Linked DNA regions of Homo sapiens: region 1 is linked to region 2. Evidence: promoter capture Hi-C in 16 types of primary human blood cells and fetal thymus (Javierre and others, 2016). All regions are on one chromosome and are shown on one strand. Each heading gives the region's core, a stretch centred on a gene start or on the middle of the fragment in contact. The rest is flanking DNA. Distances are from core to core; before and after follow the strand shown.

Region 1 (5,354 bases), core at 886-3,385, 160 kb after region 2:
TCAACCTCCTCCATTCTGGCAGCTGCAGCCAGTCTGGGGGTCTGCCCTGAAGGGCCACTCACCTGGGCCCCAGCCGCCAGCAGCAGCTGCACACACCGCGCCTGGCCCTGCAGACTGGCTGCGTGCAGGGGCGTGATGGAGTCCACGGTGACCTGGTTCACGCAGGCGCCGCTCTCGATCAGCTGTTGCAGCTGCAGGCTCTCACCCCGCTGGGCTGCCTCGTGCACAGGGGTCCGCTCCACCCAGAAACCTGGAAAGGAAGGGGACCTCAGGCTAAGACCCTGCCACTTCCATCCAGGACAAATGAGCACACGTAAGACTCCAGGGTCCCTGATGCCACCAAGGCACCATCCGTGATCATGCAATTGTCCCAGCACTTCTACAAAGATCCCTGAGCCACCCCCACTGCCTGACAGCTGGAGTCCAAGCTCCTGGGCAAGGCCTACAAGGGGCTCCGTCCTGTGGACCCCGCTCACCTCCACAGTCCACCTCCCACCCCTGCCCCTGCATATTCTGCAGGCACAGGTGCTCACCACTCCCCTGCAGTTGCACATCCTTCTCTGCTGACATGCCCACCTTTGCCCCCCTGCCAATTGTCCACTCTGCAATTTCCTGGTGAAACGTTTACATCCTCCAGGTGGGCCCAGGTAAAACAACTTCTCTGGGAAACACTTCCCACAATGCTCACGCACACACGCTCAGACCCCTGCATTTACAGTGTCTCCTGCACTCGAGTGCCTTGAGAATCCCTGTTTTAATTATTCCACTTTAGTGGCTTCCTCAGGCTTGTCTATATACAAGGTCATGTCATCTGCAAACAAAGATCATTTAACTTCTTCCTTTCTAATGTGGATGCCATTTATTTATTTATTTATTTATTTATTTATTTATTTATTTATGAGACGGAGTCTCGCTCTGTCACCCAGGCTGGAGTGCAATGGTGTGATCTCAGCTCACTGCAACCTCCGCCTCCCGGGTTCAAGCGATTCTCCTGCCTCAGCCTCCCAAGTAGCTGGGATTACGGGCACACACCATCACACCCAGCTAATTTTTCTATTTTCAGTAGAGATGGGGTTTCACCATACTGGCCAGGATGGTCTCAAACTCCTGACCTCAGGTGATCCACCCACCTCAGCCTCTCAAAGTGCTGGGATTACAGGTGTGAGCCACCACGCCCAGCTCTTTTATTTCTTTTCCTTGTTGAATTGCTCTGGCTAGGACTTGCAGTGCAATGTGGAACAAAAGGGGTGAGAGCCAACATCCTTGTCTTGTTTCTAGTCTCGGGGGAGAGCATTTAGTCATTCACCTTTAAGGACGATGTTAACTGGGTTTTCTTCTTTTTTTCTTTTTTTTTTTTTTTGTCTCAGTCAATCATAGGGATCCTATTTCCCATACAGCATCCAACACAACTCTAGCTAAGCAGAGGTGAGGGAGAGTCTGCGAAGAGGCCTCCAAGCTTCCACACTCTGCTCACTCCCAAGAAGGAGCTCCAGGGGAAGGCTGTCTCCCTTCCTTCCCTGGATACTGCCTGGATGTGAACTTGGACCTGCTGAGCCATCTGGCTACCTGCCTGAAGACAGGACCTACAGGAATGGCAAAGCCGGGAAAGGACTGGAACCTGGAGGACGAGTCAAGGACCATCAGGTGCCTGGAGCCAAGACAATGGCCGGGCTTAGTCATGTTTCTTTATTGTCTAAACCAGGTGCAGACAAAAGCTCGCTAACTGGTACAGACCGTAAACTCCCCAGATGCAGAAACCACGCACGTGTTTTCTCAGCACCCATCTCAGACACGGAGGAGTCTTCCAGACACTTTAAAATGTCACAAATGACAACAGTGCTGGATGAAAGCTGATGACATATCCTTATTGTCAACTCTCCATCTTCGAGCAGACAAGATCACATCACACACCTCTTCTCAATCAGCAGTTTCCTCTTACTATTCTGACATGTCCCTGAAAAACCTTCCTATCACCTGGATCTTCCCCAGATCTTACTTTTACACAGTGCATCTGGGCTAGGTGCGGTGGCTCATGCCTGTAATCTCACCACTTTGAGAGGCTGAGGCGGGCGGATCACTTGAGGTCAGGAGTTCGAAACCAGCCTGGCCAACATGGTGAAACCCCCGTCTCTACTAAAAATATTTTTTTAAATTACCTGGGCGTGGTGGTGCATGCCTGTAATCCCCGCCACTTGGGAGGCTGAGGCAGGAGAATCACTTGAACCCGGGAGGCGGAGGTTGCAGCGAGCCCAGATCACGCCACTGCACCATAGCCTGGGCAACAAGAGTGAAACTCTGTCTTTAAAAAAAAAAAAAAAGTGTCTGCATCGAATTTCCTCTGCAGGTGGGTAGCCTCATCAGTTAGTGCTGACGACTCTGCTTTTAGAGATCCCCACATTGCCACCTTCCCCCACCTCTGCCTTGGGCACTGAGTACAGGGTTAAGAGTTCCCTGGAGCCACAACTGCTCAGAACTGCTTGGTGGAAACTCAGCTCAGCCTTTTATCAGCTTACCCAAAACACAACTTCCCTGAGTGTCAGTTTCTTTACCTGTAAGTTGTGATAACAATAGTTTCTCTTCATAGGTGGACTATGAACATTCAGTGAATTGAAATAGGTAGATGCACTTAAAGGGTGGGGCCTGGCACCGAATCAGTGCTCAATAAACACTGTCTGTTTGTAGTATTTTTGCCTCCAATTGTAGCTATCTGTCTTGTCCACAGCCAAAGAGCCCGGGTGACCCTATGTCAGTGGAAGTGGGGACTAGGGAGAACTGAACCACAAAGGAAGATTCGATCCCCACAAAATGTAAAAGTCAAGCTTGTGGAACTTTCTACTCACCGTCTCCAGGTGGCCCTCAGCCCCACCAGTAGTAATGAACAGTAACCCACTGCCCTCCTGAGGTTAGTGAGAAGTGGCTTAGTGTCACTTTAAAATCAATCCGCAGGGAGCAAAATCCTAAGGGTAGAAGGAGAGGCTGCCACTTGAAAAAGAAGAGGAAGGCAGGGTAAGGCCTAGGTCTTGCAGCAAAAAAAGAAAGTGCATCTCAGGAGGCCACCTGAGCCGGGAAGGCGCGTTCCCGACGTGCCTCCATTCACAAGACGTCCAGGTGGATTTAGCGTCTTCCGCTGCCACACGCAAAGATGACTAAGATGCAGCAATAGGCAGCTCACAGTCAGGGACCAGGGAATAAATGCGCAGATAATTCACAACATGACAACTGCGATCATGTCTGGTGACAGGGACTCAGAATTAAGAGCCCCGGTGCCCAGGGATGGCCAGGGAAGGTCACAGAGGCCGCAGAGCTGCAGCCGGGTCTATCTCAGGCACCGCTTATTCACCTCTGTACCCCAGAACCTGGCACTGTCCAAGAAGATGCTGGTATCCACGTGGTTGCTCAGTGAGTGAGTGGATGAGTAAATGAATGGAAGGAGTTACTAAAACCAATTATAAAGTCTGACTGGTCAAGGTGGTTCAAGCCTGTAATCCCAGCACTTTGGGAGGCCAAGGCGGGTGGATCACGAGGTCAGGAGTTTGAGACCAGCCTGGCCAACATGGTGAAACCCCATCTCTACTAAAAATACAAAGAATTAGCCGGCCGTGGTGGCACGTGCCTGTAATCCCAGCTACTCAGGAGGCGGAGGCAGCAGAATCGCTTGAACCCAGGAGGCGGAGATTGCAGTGAGCTGAGATCGCACCATTGCATTCCAGCCTGGGCAACCGAGCAAGACTCCGTCTCAAGAAAAAAAAAAAAAGTCTGTAGCAGTGAAACAGCAAAAGAACTAACATTTTTGTTTGAGGGGCCTTTATCCATTCTTACACAGAGGCTAGGATAATTTTAGAGCATTAAGATAATATGCAAAAAGAGCAAACGTGTAGCTTTGAAATTAACTCTGGGATTAAAAGGAAAGCATGTAAACAACTAGCTATGTTTTGTTAAAGATTTATAGGAGCACTGCGACCTGATCAAGGACAAAGATGTTCCCAACCTCCTAGGACCTTCACTGGTGCCCAGATGTCACTGGTCCTTGGTTACCTCTTGATCCCAACAGCCTCTTTTTCCCACTGCCCTTAACATAATTAAGAACCCGAAACCTGTACTGACTTAGACGGCACTTTAGACACTTATCTACCATCTTCCTGGTTTGCTGGCTCTCCAGATAAACCTGCCACCAACTCTTGTCTCTCGTATTTGGCTTTTGAGCAGTAAGCAGCCAAATCTGGGTTCAGTTACAACTAGACATAAAATTTTTAAAAGAAAATCTAATTTTATTTCTCTGTATCACCAGTCTACAAAGGAAATGCAACTTATTTCTAGTGAATCACATCAGCTGCTGTAGTCTTACTGCAGCAATTCAGGGCAAAAATTAGCAGCAGACATGATAAGAAAAAAAGAAAAAAGAAACTTCCGTGCATCAAAGGGCACAATCAGAGTGAAATGGCAACCCACAGAATGGGAGAAAATATTTGCAAGTCATATATCTGAAAAGGGGTTAGTCCAGAATATATAAAGAACTCCTGCAACTCAAAAACAAAAAAAACAAATAACCAGGTTTAAAAATGGGCAAACGAGTTGAACAGACATTTCTCTAAACAGGATGCACACAGCCACAAACATAAAAAAAAAAGGTATTCAAGGTCACTAATCATTAAAGAAATGCAAATCAAAACCACAATAAGATACTACCTCACACCTGTTAGGATTATCAAAAAAAACCAAATACGTGTTGGCGAGAATGTGGAGAAAGTGGTACTCTTGTGCACTGATGATGGGAATATAAAATGGTCTAGCCACTGTGGAAGACTGTATGGCAGTTCCTAAAAAATGAAACATAGGATATCATATGATCCAGCAACTCCACTGCTGGGCATATCTCCAGAAGAATTGAAAGCAGGGTCTTGAGGAGAGATTCATTTGTACACCCACATTCATAGCAGCATTATTCTCAACAATCCAAGTGTCCAGTGGAATATTATTCAGCGTTGGGAATGAAGGAAATCCTGTCCCATGCTACAACATGGATGAACCTTGAGGACATTATGCTGAGTCAAACAAGCCATTTCTAGGCCAGGCACGCTGGCTCACACCTGTAATCCCAGCACTTTGGGAGGCCGAGGCGGGCAGATCACTTGAGGTTAGGAGTTCGAGACCAGCATGGCCAACATGGGGAAACCCTGTCTCTACTAAGAATACAAAAATTAGCCAGGCATGGTGGCTGTAATCCATGGTGCTTCAGTAGTGCCAGCTACTCAGAGGCTGAGGCACGAGAATCGCATGAACCCAGGAGACAGAGGTTGCAGTGAACTGAGATCACACCACTGCACTCCAGCCTGGGTGACAGAGAGAGACTCTGT
Region 2 (4,960 bases), core at 2,083-4,582:
AGAAAGGAATTCAGTGGTGAAAATGCACCATATCCTCAGAATTTAAAAAGTGAACGCAAAGCCTTTATTTTTCTTTTGTTATTTTATTTTATTTTCCTACACAGACCCTGGAAAACCTCTTCTTGACCAGCTCAGCACTGAGGACTCATCACTTCAGAAATCAGACCTCTGTGATCCGCGTGCCTAAGAGGATGGGGCTTTCCTGGAGGACCTCCGGGCAGAGCCAGGATGGGCATAGACTTTGCCGCAGGCCTCCTGCTCAGTCAGGTGAGCAGGCAGGTCTCAGGCTGCCTCTGCTCTGTTACCCTCTCACCTCCTTATCTTCTCTCTTCCACCCGCTCTGCAGCCCTTCCTGTTCAGAGCCCTGAGGGAGGAGGCTGGGGTGTCCACCTCTCCTCTCCCTAGCCCCAGGTGCTCCCTGCCCACAGCCCAGGCAGAGGAGGGAAGGTCTGACCCCAGCCCTGAGGCTGGAAGGGCCTGGAGGGCACTGGCCAGGCTCTGAGCACCGGGCAAGAAGGAACAGGTCGCAATGAGTGACCGCAAGAGATCATGGTGACTCCTGAAAACGCCCAGGCCCCGCCTCAGTGCCCCGGGCTACCCCTGGCCCCCCAGGCTTTGTGCTGAAGCCGAGATAAAGTGGACAGGCGCACCTCACTCCTCCACAGGTGTGCCCCACCCCCCCACCCGCAGGTCTGCCCGAGAGCACGGCAGGTGGGAAAGAGACGAATCCTGACTCCAAGGCCAGGGCCGCCACCTCCCCAAAGCCCGATTTCACCCAATGCTACCATAAGTTGGCCTGGGCTGCTCCTGTACCCACCTGGGGCTTCAGTTTCCACATCTGCCAAGCAAGGTGCCTGGGTCCGACCATCTGAGACCCAGGACAAAGGGAGCCCTGGGAACGCCAGGCTGTGATGAGCGAGCCTGGGTCTCGTTTCTAAACCTCACGGCACCAACACAACCCAAGTCCATACAGGGCTGTGCCCTGTCAGGGTGGAGGGCCCTGCCTGCTCAGCCCCGTCCTTCTCCCCCTTGCTCTGCCCTTTCCCCACCTCCCCCAACCCTAACCACACAGACGCACACACACACACACACAGAGACACACACAGACACAGACGCACAGATGCACACACAGACACACACAGACTCACGGACACATAGACACAAAGACACACACACACAGACACAGAGACACATACATGCACACACAGACACACACAGACTCACGGATACAGACAGACACACACACATAGACAGTGACACACACACAGACACACACAAAGACACACAGACACACAGACACATACAGACACACATGGACACAGACATTCACGCAGACCCACAGATAGACACAGACAGACACACAGATACACAGACACAGACACAGACAGACACACACACACATAGACACACAGACACACGGATAGATAGACACACAGACAAAGACATACCTAGACACACACACACAGACACAGATATACAGACACACAGATACACACAGATACATACACAGGCACATACACGAACACACAGACATACCTAGACACACAGATACACACACAGAGCCACACACAGACACACATATACACATACACAGACACAGACACATATGCACAGACATAAACACATATACAGACACAGACACACACAACACACAGACACACAGACACACAGATAGGCACACAGACACACACAAACACATACACAGACACACACAGACACACACAGATAAACACACACAGACACATAGACACAGAGACACACACACACAGATAGGCACACAGACACACACAAACACATACACAGACACACACACAGACACAGACACACACAGATAAACACACACAGACACATAGACACAGAGACACACACACACAGATACACACACAAAGCCACACACAGACACAGACACACAGATAAGACACACACACAAATGGACACACACAGACACATAGACACAGAGACACACTCAGACACACACACAGATACACACATACACATGCAGATGCACACAAGGACACACAGACACACAAACATACAGAGACTTACACACAGATGCACACATACAGAGACACGCATACAGACACACAGACACACACACAGATGCACACACAGACGTACACGTATATTATTTGCAGCCGAAGAGAGGCAGGCTGCGTGCAGAGGCTGGCAGCTGGGCTCCGTCTGTCCATGCGAGGCGCCCGCTCCTGTTTGTGCGGGACACGTGCCCAGGTCCTCACCAGCAGCTCAGGCAGAACCTGGAGCCACAGACACCGCCCAGCACCATCCTCACACATCCTCTGCCCACCTGCCCTCTGCTCCGCGTCAGGGGAGGCAGGAGCTGCCCCTGGGGCCTGCTCCAGGCAGTTCTGCCACCGCAGGTGAGAGGGGTGGGCTGGAAGGAACCCTGGAAGCAGGTGGGGGCCCTCGGAGGCAGCCGCCCCACAAACACCAAGCACACATGGAACTCGGCAGTCCTTTATTTAGATCAATGCGGGGCTGAGGGGCCCTCATTCCACTGCAGGGCAAAGGGGGACCAGGCCCAAGGAGGCCTCCTTCTGCCCAAGGTCTGGAGGCAGAGAGGGGCTCGCAGGCGGCCCGAGGGCGCCGCATCCAGGCCCCGGAGCGCAAAGCCTTCCTCCCAGGGGGAGGCAGTTTCCCATCCACCGACCAGGTTTCCCCGGAGAGTCCCAGCACAAAAGCAGCAGCGGGCGGTGGCCCTGAAGGCTCAGAGCGCAGCCAGGGGGACACAGGCGGGGAGCCTCACTCCTGGGCGAGCATCCTCGCGAACTCCTCGTAGTTCACCCGCCCGTCCTGGTCCACGTCGGCCTCGCGGATCATGGCGTCCAGCTCCTCCTGCGGCAGCGGCTGCCCCAGCCCCGCCATGGCCCGCCTGAGCTCGTCCACGGTGATGTGGCCGTCGCCATCCTGGTCGAAGGCGCGGAAGGCGACCTGCAGGTCCTCCAGGCCGGCCCTGGCCTTCTTCGCCGCCGTCAGGAACTCCTGGAAGCTGATTTCGCCGTCGCCGTCGCTGTCAACCTCGGAGATGAGTTTCCTTAGCTGGGCCTCCGAGAGGTTCTTGCCCGTGGCCTTCAGCGCCGCGCCCAGCTCCTGGGCATTGATGGTGCCGTTTCCATCCGTGTCAACCGCGGAGAAAGCCTTTTTGTACTGGGCCTCCTCCTCAGGAGTCAGCTCACCGGCCATGCCTGCGTCTCCTGCACCTCGCGGAGCCTCCGAGCTGCTGCCCACCGGCCCTCAACCTGCTGCTCTCAGAGCTCGTGGTCCAGAGTGCAGGCAGCCGCAGGGATCCGGGCAGCGTCTGTCCCAGACAGTTCTGCCTTGGCATGGGAACCCCCTCCTTTTCTGCAATCGGAACAAAGGGAGGAGGGAGGCTCCCCACCCTCCAAATGCCCTGGGGTGAGAGCCTCCTCCCAGGGAGGGCCAGATCAGCTGCAGACAGGAAATGCAGGAATGGGAGTTGGGAGAGCTGTCAGGTGCCAGGTGGGAACTGCCATGGGGTCGGGGTATCGGATGGCTAGCCTGCCAACCCCGCCTGGCCTTGATAGCAACCACCTCCCTCCAGGAACATTCTGCCCAAGGGATAGTTTCCCCTGCAGCTGATTCTCGGAGATCCTGACCAAGCCAAGGGGTTCAAGACAGCTTCTGCAACTTCACAAAGACTGAGACTGGAGGGGGAGGTGGCTTGAAGAGGGCTCCCTCAAGGGCACAGCAGGCCCCAGTGTTTGGTGTTTCCGTACCCCTCTCTCCAGTGCTACTGCCTAGCTCTTGCCCTGAGGCTGGGGCTGGTGGAAGGGAAGTGGGTGGTAGTGTTGATTCTGCCAGGGCACAACTGTGGGTATCATGAGATTCCCAGGCCAGGGTCTAGAGACAGAGGATGGGGCTCACTGCCTATAACTTCAAGGAAGCAAGGGACCAGGGCTGCCTTCAGAGCCATAGCTGGTGCTGAGATGGTGTTTATCAAGTGAACATGTGACGTGCAGTTTCAGAGGAGAGGGAAAGACTTTTTGTCTCCCCAGAATACTCCCTTCTAGCTCAGGGATTCCTACAATTCAATTCCATCGCCAAGTCCAAGGTTCCCTGTGCAGACACCCTGGGAGCTCAGTGGCAGGCGTTCCATTCACAGGGCGTCAAACAGTTACAGCTGGAGTTTTGCTGCAGCGAGACACGGGGGACCTCAGTGCCCAGCATACCCCAAAGGTGCAGGCAGAGGTGCAGGAGGATGCAGAACAGGTGGCTGCCATCAAACTTGGCCCTCCTTGTGGTTTTACTAAGCATCAGCCCTAAGCACAGAGACCCATCTGGGAGCCTACTGGGGTCCTCAATCTGATCTGTTCTCTGGAAGGAAACCCCCAGGGCCACTTGCCTTGACCAACTTTTAGAGCAACAGCTAAGCTTTCGGGGGACCATCCCCAAGTCCTTCCACTGATGTGATCTACAGTTGTGAGGGGACATTTGCCTTGGAGTCCCCAAAATGCCTTTCCCAAGCAAGTCCCCTCTGATCTCCATAGATTCCCATTCTTCTCCCCAGCCCCTGCCCGTACACAGGGAACAAACTCCTTTATTCCCCTGGGAAAGTTTATACATTCCACCTCCCTCCTGTTCAGCCCATCAAATAGACCAAGTGCCCTCTCCTTCCCTAAAGTGCAGCCAGACAAACACCTCCCAGCCCCTTGGTGCTGCACACATTCTCCAAGGGAAGCCGGAGGCTGGGGTGCCCAACCACGCACTCCATGACCCACAGCTCAGTCCCCCAGGACCACACAAGGGGCAAACCAGGCAGAGCAGTGAGAGGAGGGAAGATGCCCCAGCCAGCCCTAGTGTGGCAGCTGCTCCCTGAGCTGCATGTGAGGGGCCAGAGGGAGGTGCAAAGGGCTCGGAAGCACCACAGCAGAGGGAGAGGCTGAGGTCTGCAGAGAGGGAGCTCCGTGGACCAGGTACAAAA

The links. Contacts are between HindIII fragments. The CHiCAGO score rates a contact against its expected background, and 5 or more counts as called.
Region 1: a contact is called between a fragment that was not itself captured here and the fragment with the promoter of CALML5 in region 2, in 1 of 17 cell types (erythroblasts). The highest score is 5.1, in erythroblasts.

Annotation. Positions count from the first base shown.
Region 1 is chr10:5,652,801-5,658,154 of GRCh38, forward strand. ASB13 (ankyrin repeat and SOCS box containing 13) reads right to left here. Exons shown (of 6, transcript NM_024701.4): 2 at 63-250. Among named protein-coding and RNA genes, the nearest start is that of ASB13, 11 kb to the right of the region's middle. The HindIII fragment of the contact is 1,363 bases long and covers 1,455-2,817 here.
Region 2 is chr10:5,496,238-5,501,197 of GRCh38, forward strand. CALML5 (calmodulin like 5) reads right to left here and starts at 3,333. Exons shown (of 1, transcript NM_017422.5): 1 at 2,460-3,333. The coding sequence starts at 3,201. The coding sequence ends at 2,761. The HindIII fragment of the contact is 4,911 bases long and covers 1-4,408 here.